Linked DNA regions of Homo sapiens: regions 1 and 2 are each linked to region 3. Evidence: promoter capture Hi-C in 16 types of primary human blood cells and fetal thymus (Javierre and others, 2016). All regions are on one chromosome and are shown on one strand. Each heading gives the region's core, a stretch centred on a gene start or on the middle of the fragment in contact. The rest is flanking DNA. Distances are from core to core; before and after follow the strand shown. Region 1 has its middle 43 kb from the start of PRP4K. Region 2 overlaps GMDS (GDP-mannose 4,6-dehydratase). Region 3 holds the start of LINC01011 (long intergenic non-protein coding RNA 1011).

Region 1 (2,766 bases), core at 227-2,726, 990 kb after region 3:
TTCGTATCTTTGCTGTGGGGGAAACTACATCATAAATGAGTCACTGATTCGGAGTATGTTCTGCATCTCATCGGGTACTAAATCAGCTCCACAAAGTTATTTTATCAACTGGCACCATAACTGAATCTTCAAAAGCCCATTCTGCCACTCTATCAAGCCAAGCTTCAGGATGATGGCAAACATGGTAAGACCAGTGAATTCCAAATAAAGGCATTCACAACATCATGCTTTCGTGAGCACATTGCTGCACTTCATTTGCTGTGAAATCAGTTCCTTGTCAGAAGCAAAGCTAGGAAGAGTGCCACTATCATACATTAGGTATTCTGTAAGTAAGTCCAGAGATGACCATTTTGGAGGAACCACTGTGGACAGGGAGGGCAATCCATCCATCTCCAGTGAGAACAAAGCAGTGCTTCTGGCAAGATGGAAATGGTCCACGTTACTTAAACTGTTGATTCCCCCAAATAACAGTGCCACATCATGGGCTCAATGTTTGTCTCTGCTGTTGGCAGGCTGGGCACCCTGCAGGAGCCATTTGCAAATCAGACTTTCACCGAGCCTAAGCTCAGCTCCATCCCTGCCACCTTGGGAACAGAATTCTGGGAAGTATAGTTCCCAACCTCAGAAGAACGGTGGTGTCATCAGGTTGACAAGAGGCAATCCAGCACAGATGTTCTCCTTGCCTCTCAGTGTTCTGAAAGGTCATTCCGATGTGCTGGGCCTTTCTGCATCACTGCAATGGGCACTCAGGAAGCCCTTTCTGTACAAAAGCACATGTTCTCAAGTTCGTGTAGATTTTTATTATTTTAGTTTCTTCTCCTTTGTTTACTCTGTTCTCTCTGGAATTCCTAATATCATGCACCTCTGAGTTGATTCTCTAATTTTCTTATCTTTTCCCTTCCCTTCTCTCCTTCTGTCCTCCACACTGCCTTTTTTGTTCTTTCTGGGATATGTTATTGACTTTATCTTCCAAAGTATCTGCTTATTTATTTGAAGATTTTTAAAGCTTTTTATTTTTAAATAATTATAGATTCACAGGAAATATTATTTCAAAATTCAAAAAAAGGTACTGGGATGTCTCATGCACCGCCCCCCCAGACTCCCTCACTGTTAACATCCTGAACGACTATAGCATAATATCGAAAATGAAAAATTGAAATTGGTGGTGGCGGCAGCACGGTGGCAGGGGCAGCAAGGCGGCTGCAGCAGCTGTAGAAGAGGTCAGCTCAGCCGGCCAGTTTGAGGAGCTGCTGCGCCTCAAAGCCAAGTCCCTCCTTGTGGTCCACAATGTGCACAGATGAACGAAGTTATGGCAGAGTTAGCTAAAGAACACCCTCAAGTTTCATTTGTGAAGTTGGAAGCTGAAGGTGTTCCTGAAGTATCTGAAAAATATGAAATTGGCTCTGTTCCCACTTTTCTGTTTTTCAATAATTCTCAGAAAATTGACCGATTAGATGGTGCACACATCCCAGAGTTGACCAAAAAAGCTCAGCGACATCTAGTGGCTCCTTCCCACCCAGCACTGATGAACATCTTAAAGACCAAAAAAGCTCAGCGACATGCATCTAGTGGCTCCTTCCCACCCAGCACTGACGAACATCTTAAAGAAGATCTCAACCTTCGCTTACAGAAACTGACTCATGCTGCCCCCTGCATGCTGTTTATGAAAGGAACTCCTCAAGAACCACTCTGTGGTTTCAGCAAGCAGATGGTGGAAATTGTTCACAAACATAATATTTAGTTTAGCAGTTTTGATGTCTTTAGATCAAGAGGTTCGACAGGGGCTCAAAGCCTATTCCAATTGGCCTACCTATCCTCAGCTCTACGTTTCTGGAGAGCTCATAGGAGGACTTGATATAATTAAGGAGATACACGCATCTGAAGAACTAGATATAATTTGTCCCAAAGCTCCCAAATTAGAGGAAAGGCTCAAAGTGCTGACAAATGAAGCTTCTATGATGCTCTTTATGAAAGGAAACAAACAGGAAGCAAAATGTGGATTCAGCAAACAAATTCTGGAAATACTAAATAGTACTGGTGGTGAATATGAAACATTCGATATATTGGAGGATGAAGGAGATCGGCAAGGATTAAAAGCTTACTCAAATTGGCCAACATACCCTCAGCTGTATGTGAAAGGGGAGCTGGTGGGAGGATTGGATATTGTGAAAGAGCTGAAAGAAAATGGTGAATTGCTGCCTATACTGAGAGGAGAAAATTAATAAATCTTAAACTTGGTGCCCAACTATTGCAAGAAATACTTAATTACATTGGGAGCAGTTCATGATTTAGTCCTCAGAAATGGGCTAGGAATAGAAAAATCCTGCTTACTCAGTTACATGTTTTTTGTATTTCACAATGTCGTGCTAAATAAAAGTATGTTACATGTTTTCCCACTAAAAATAGAATGCAATAAACATCTTCAAATTATTAACAATAACTGTATAAAAAAGTGTATCTTTACAGCAATATTAAACATACAGCTACTAGAAAAAAACTGAAATTGGTACAATCTACAGAGCTCATTCAGATTTCACAAGTTACACATGCCCGTGTGTGTTTGGCATAACTTTTTGCAATTTTATCACTTGTGTTGTCTTGGATAGCCACCATCACAATCAAGATACACAACAGTACCATAGCCGTAAGAGTCCCGCATGTTACCACTTTATGAACATACCTATTCCCTCTTCCCCCATTCCTAATCCCTCACAACCAGTAATCTGTTCTCCATTTCAAAAATGATGTTTCATCAATGTTGCATAG
Region 2 (2,820 bases), core at 62-2,561, 750 kb before region 3:
GTCAGGCTTGGTGGCAGCTACCAGGGAGGCTGAAGCAGGAGGATCACCTGAGCCCAGGAGTTCAAAGCTGCAGCGAGCTATGATTGCACCACTGCACTTCAAACTCCAGAGGAACAAAATAATTCACTGTCTTCCCCCAGAAAACTGATTTTCCTTCCCAGTGGTTGCATTTCTGGCCATACTATTACCATCCAACCTGTCACCAAAATGCATTTGCATCCTTGATCTCATTATCCTCATACTTTTACTATTCTCATTCATCCTACATACCCCTAACTGCATTCCCAAGCACTTCTCCATCCTTCTCTCATTCCTTCCCACTGTGAGAACTTATTCATAATAAATAAGAACTATCACTTCATAAACACTACATGCCAGGAACAGTGATAGGCCTTATTATAATATAATCATCATTTGTAATCCACACATCAATTTGTGATGTGGGCATAATTAACTCCATTTTTCTACCCAAGAAAAACCCAAGAATTTAAAACTCCTTCCTCTATCCTAATTTCCCTGATTTGAACTTTACAAACATGTACCAAAATATCACACATACCCCATAAATATGTACAATTATTATGTACCAGTTAAAAAAAAAATCGTTCCTCACCAAAAAGTCACTTCATTCATTTGATATGTCCTACAAAGATGGACAGCTCCAAGTTTTCACTCTATCCTTACAAATTCTGACAACATACAACTCATATGAATTTCTTCTTAGTTTACAAACTTAATTTCAAATTCAGTAAAATTAATAGTTCATTGGTTTCATTTAAAAAAAAAACTATCCTGGCCGGGCACGGTGGCTCACGCCTATAATCCCAGCACTTTGGGAGGCCAAGGTGGGCGGATGACTTGAGGCCAAGAGTTCAAGACCAGCCTGGCCAACATGGCAAAACCCCAACTCTACTAAAAATACAAAAATTAGTTGGGCGTGGTAGCGCACGCCTGTAATCCCAGCTACTCAGGAGGCTGAGGCACAAGAATCACTTGAACCCAGGACACGGATGTTGCAGTGAGTGAGATCATACCACCATTGCACTCCAGCCTAGGCAACAGAGTAAGATCTGTCTCAAAAAAAAAAAAAAAAAATCCAATTGGCTTTATGTCTAAAACTGAAATTACTGCACTGCTTAAATATAAAGATAATTGCATAATTTCTCTATTGTACACATAATAAGTCAGCATGTAATCCAAACATCACACTACTGTAGACTAGGAGCAGCCCTTAGATCCCTAAGAATAACCAGGTAACCCTTTCACTTGACAAGTTAAGAAAAACACTCAAAAAATGTAAGGCTATACAATTAATTGGTATCAAAACCCAACCTCTGATTCCCAGTCCAGAGCTCTTTCAATTAATCACATGTAACAGTCTTTGATTAAGCAGGACAGTACTCAAGACATCTCTCTCACTTCCAATAATGCCAGACCTTTTTTTTTTTTTTGAAATGGAGTCTTGCTCTGTCGCCCAGGCTGGAGTGCAGTGGCACGATCTCGGCTCACTGCAAGCTCTGCCTCCCGGGTTCACCCCACTCTCCTGCCTCAGCCTCCCAAGCAGCTGGGACTACAGGCACCTGCCCCCATGCCCAGCTAATTTTTTTGTATTTTTAGTAGAGACAGGGTTTCACTATGTTAGCCAGGATGGTATCGATCTCCTGACCTCGTGATCCAGAGATTTGGGAGGCCCGCCTCAGCCTCCCAAAGTGCTGGGACCACAGGTGTGAGCCACCACGCCCAGCCCAATAATGCCAAACCTTTTATCCCAGGACTGCAAATCCCAGCAAGGAAGATTTAGAATGGAAGTCACTGCCTACAATCCTCTTATATGAGAAGATAAGACCAGCTCCCAGATCTGCTTTGCACAGTCTTGAAAGACTCACTGGACATTAAATCTGTTGGCCTCCCAGTACTTTATAGCCTTGTGGTTGATTCCAAATATTACAGAACTTTCTGCTTCTAGATAATAGATTCCCCATGCAAAGCAAGGCTAAATAGTAATACCTCCCACATTCAACTTCCTTTCCTAAAAGTCAAGAAATCTTTTATTATTCTGTTAACACTATGGAGGGAAGGTCCATTCCAGTAATGAGGCAAAGGCCACTACTATGTGCAGATTTATTTCCTATTTGATAAGAATTATTCTTCCAACCTGGCAGAAAAGATAAGTGACTTACCCAAAGCCAGTGCAGTTCAGAAAGAGCTAAGCAGTAATTCAAACACCTGTAATCCCAGCTACTCAGGCAGCTAAGGCACGAGAATCATTTGAACCTGGAAGGTAGAGGTTGCAGTAAACCGAGGTCACGTCACTGCACTCCAGCCTGGACAACAGAATAAGACTGTCTCAAAAAAAAAAAAAAAAAAAGAAAAGAAAAAGAAAACCACCTCATAGAAGCTCTCTGTTGCTTCAACAAATATACTTTGAACAAAATGTAATGCACTTTGAACGGTACCTGGCACAAACTAAATGCTCAGTACTTGTTAATTATTTTAATCTACCATAATTATAACTATCACCATCATCATACCACTAGACTATCAATGTCATAAGGAAGATGGTAATTCAGTCTGTTGCATTTGCTGTTCAAAGTGCATTACTTGTAGAATTGGTAGAGAAAAGGGAAACAGATCAGAAAAATTTTTCAAATCTACAACCTGGTCATGTGATAGTGAAAGAAAACAGCATTTTTCAGTAAAGAAAGCCAATGGTGCTGGGGAGCAATCACCTGCTAAAGAGGTTGGCATGGATAAAAGGGAGCCAGGTGCTAATAGTCAGAACAATGGGAAAAGACCCTGAAGGCATCTCAGACATCTTTG
Region 3 (2,700 bases), core at 113-2,612:
CAGGCGACACGGTCCCTGGGCTCAAGATGCCAGACAGATGTGCAAACAAGTGAAATCTGATGTGATATGTGCTTTAGTGGTGCCAAGGATAAAAGGATAAGTGTTAAGAAAAAGTAGCAACAATATGTCTGACTGGGAGAATCAAGAAAGGTGTCATAGAGTCCCTAACACTTGAGCTGAGAATGAGAAAGAGCATGAGCTGGCCAGGTGACACACAGAGCATATTCCAACCTAGGAGACTGGGAAATGGGCCAAAATATATACGTTTGAGGAAACAAATAGCTTACTATATAATTAAATATGAGGCAGTTTAGACTGGGCCCTTATGGATAAGTCACACCCATAAATTTTATTTCATCTTACAGGCAGTGGAGAGCCTCTGGAGGATTCTGAGCTTCGTGGTCTCATCATCAGAGTTATGTATGGCAACCATCCCAACCTTTTTGGCACCAGGGAGGGGTTTTGTGGAAAACTATTTTTCCTTGGACAGCAGAGGATGGTTTCGGGATGATTCAAGCACATGACACTTCTTGTGCACTTTATTTTCAGTGGGAGCCCTGAGCTTGTTTTCCTGCAACTATCTGGCCCCATGTGGGGGTGATGAAGACAACGGCAGATTATCAGGCATTAGATTCTCATAAGGAGCGCACATCCTAGATCCCTTATGTGTGCAGTTCACAGTAGGGTTTGTGCTCCTATAAGAATCTAATGCTGCCTGATCTGATAGGAGGCAGAGCTCTGGTGGTAATGCAAGCAATGGGGAGCAGCTGCACATACAGATAAAGCTTCACTAGCTCACCCACTGGTGGCTCACCTCTTGCTGTGTGTCCTGGTTCCTAACAGGCTACAGACCAGTCAGGTCTGTGGCCCGGGGGTTGGGAACTCCTGGTGTATGGAAGAGACTACTCTGCAGCAATGTGGACAAATAGGATGAGGGTGAGCTGTCAGGGGAGACAGGCACACATGGCAGAGCTATTTAAAAAGGAGGATAGATGACCAGGCACAGTGGCTCATGCCAGTAATCCCAGCACTTTGGGAGGCAGAGGCAGGCGGATCACGAGGTCAGCAGTTCAAGACCAGCCTGGCCAACATGGCAAAACCTCATCTCTGCTAAAAATACAAAAATTAGCTGGGCGTGGTGACATGCGCCTGTAATCCCAGCTACTCAGGAGGCTGAGGCAGGAGAATCACTTGAACCCGGGAGGCAAAGATTGCAGTGAGCCGAGATCGTGCCATTGCACTCTAGCCTGGGCAACACAGCAAGACTCTGACTGGAAAAAAAAAAAAAAAAAAAGGAGGATAGACAGGGCTTGGGGATTGGTGGATGGGTAGATAAGGAAGGAGGAGTCTAGCATGACTCTCAGACTACTGACTTGGACCAGCAGGGGAATGGCTGTGACAATAAATAAGATTGGGAAAACAAGAAGGTGAGCAAATTTAGAGGAGAAAATGAATTTCATTTTTGGCATGGTGTGGAAGGCTCGGGAGAGAGGTCTAGGCACCAGATGTCAACGTGAGGTGAAATGGATATAGCTGAAGTCAAGGGTGTGGTGAGGTTTTGCAGGGAGAGCAGGGACCTCCAGCAAGGCCAGTGCATAAGGGAGAATAGAGAAAAAAAGAACCAGAAAAAGACAAGGAGAGGCCAGAGAGGTGTGGAAAGAACCAGGGAAGACAGTTATTCACAACAAACAAAAGAGGGCAGAGTTTTAGAGAAGGAACTGAGCAGTTTGGGGCTCCAGGTGGGGCAGGAGTGGGTGGCCACGGTTGAGGGGCAGTGGCCTTCAAATTGGTCTGGGTAGGTTCTAATGGGTCAGATTGGTCAGTCCTTTCCAGGACACTGAAGGCTGCAGAGGTGTGACTGGATGCTGGTGGAGGGATGCATGGCGGGGAAGCTGAGTCAGATCCTGAAATCCTCCAAGCATGCGCCTGAAATGACCAAGGGAAATGAAGGCGGAGGCTGCTGTCGCCTGGTGGCCTGGGAAGGGCCAAGAGCCAGGGAGCTGGAGGGAGGAGAGAACGTGCGACCTCAGCACGGAGCACTGTAGGGGAGGCGGGGCTGGAGGGAGATGGCGCCGCGCTCCCGGATGAACAGAGAAAGCGACAGGGTGAGTCGCAGGGCACAGTGTGGGATGAGTCACCGACAGCAAGGCATGGACTCCGGGAAGAAGGGGAGACGAGCCGGGAAAGACTTGCATCGGGGATGTGAGCTGAGCTGCACCCAGACAAAAGCGGCTCGGGGCTCCTGAAAGCAGCAGGCACCGCCGGTCCTGCCAAGGGGCTACTTCCTGCGCGGAGTAGGAGAGTAGGAGACCCCAGGCCAGTCCCAATCCCCGGCCCGTCCGGGATGAGGGGGGCTGCGGGAGCTGCGGGGGCCTCCTCCAGGGAGGACGGTTGCAGGGTCCCTCGGCCGCCGCCCACTCCCGGGGGCGTTCCTTCCTCCCAGCTGCGCCCGGAGCGCCTGCTGCCTGGCGAGAGCCCGCCCCTCTGCAACCAGCCCGCTGCAGCGGAGGGCGCCTGGGTGCCCTCGGCCGAGCCAGCAGCCCACGGTCGGCGCCGCACTGTCCCCTGGTGGCGGAGCGCTCCCGCGACCCGGCTCGCCACGCCTGGGAGGGGTCCAGGAGGACGCGGCTGGGACCTGGGGGCTCTCAGGGTGGGGCCTTGGGGGATGAGGCTGGGGCCCGCGGGAAACCGGGCTGGGGC

Evidence for each region. Contacts are between HindIII fragments. The CHiCAGO score rates a contact against its expected background, and 5 or more counts as called.
Region 1: a contact is called between a fragment that was not itself captured here and the fragment with the promoter of LINC01011 in region 3, in 1 of 17 cell types (fetal thymus). The highest score is 5.1, in fetal thymus.
Region 2: a fragment that was not itself captured here is called in contact with the fragment with the promoter of LINC01011 in region 3 in 1 of 17 cell types (neutrophils); the score reaches 6.6 in neutrophils.

The regions. Positions count from the first base shown.
Region 1 is chr6:3,976,878-3,979,643 of GRCh38, forward strand. It overlaps the pseudogene GLRX3P2. Among named protein-coding and RNA genes, the nearest start is that of PRP4K, 43 kb to the right of the region's middle. RefSeq lists a silencer at 1,418-1,712. The HindIII fragment of the contact is 944 bases long and covers 1,005-1,948 here.
Region 2 is chr6:2,238,253-2,241,072 of GRCh38, forward strand. All of the region lies in intron 1 of GMDS (GDP-mannose 4,6-dehydratase), which reads right to left. Among named protein-coding and RNA genes, the nearest start is that of GMDS, 5.9 kb to the right of the region's middle. The HindIII fragment of the contact is 4,332 bases long and covers 1-2,820 here.
Region 3 is chr6:2,986,605-2,989,304 of GRCh38, forward strand. It overlaps LINC01011 (long intergenic non-protein coding RNA 1011), which reads left to right and starts at 1,363. Exons shown (of 3, transcript NR_026856.1): 1 at 1,363-1,427. RefSeq lists enhancers at 1,305-2,114, 2,115-2,700 and a silencer at 2,308-2,700. The HindIII fragment of the contact is 2,996 bases long and covers 784-2,700 here.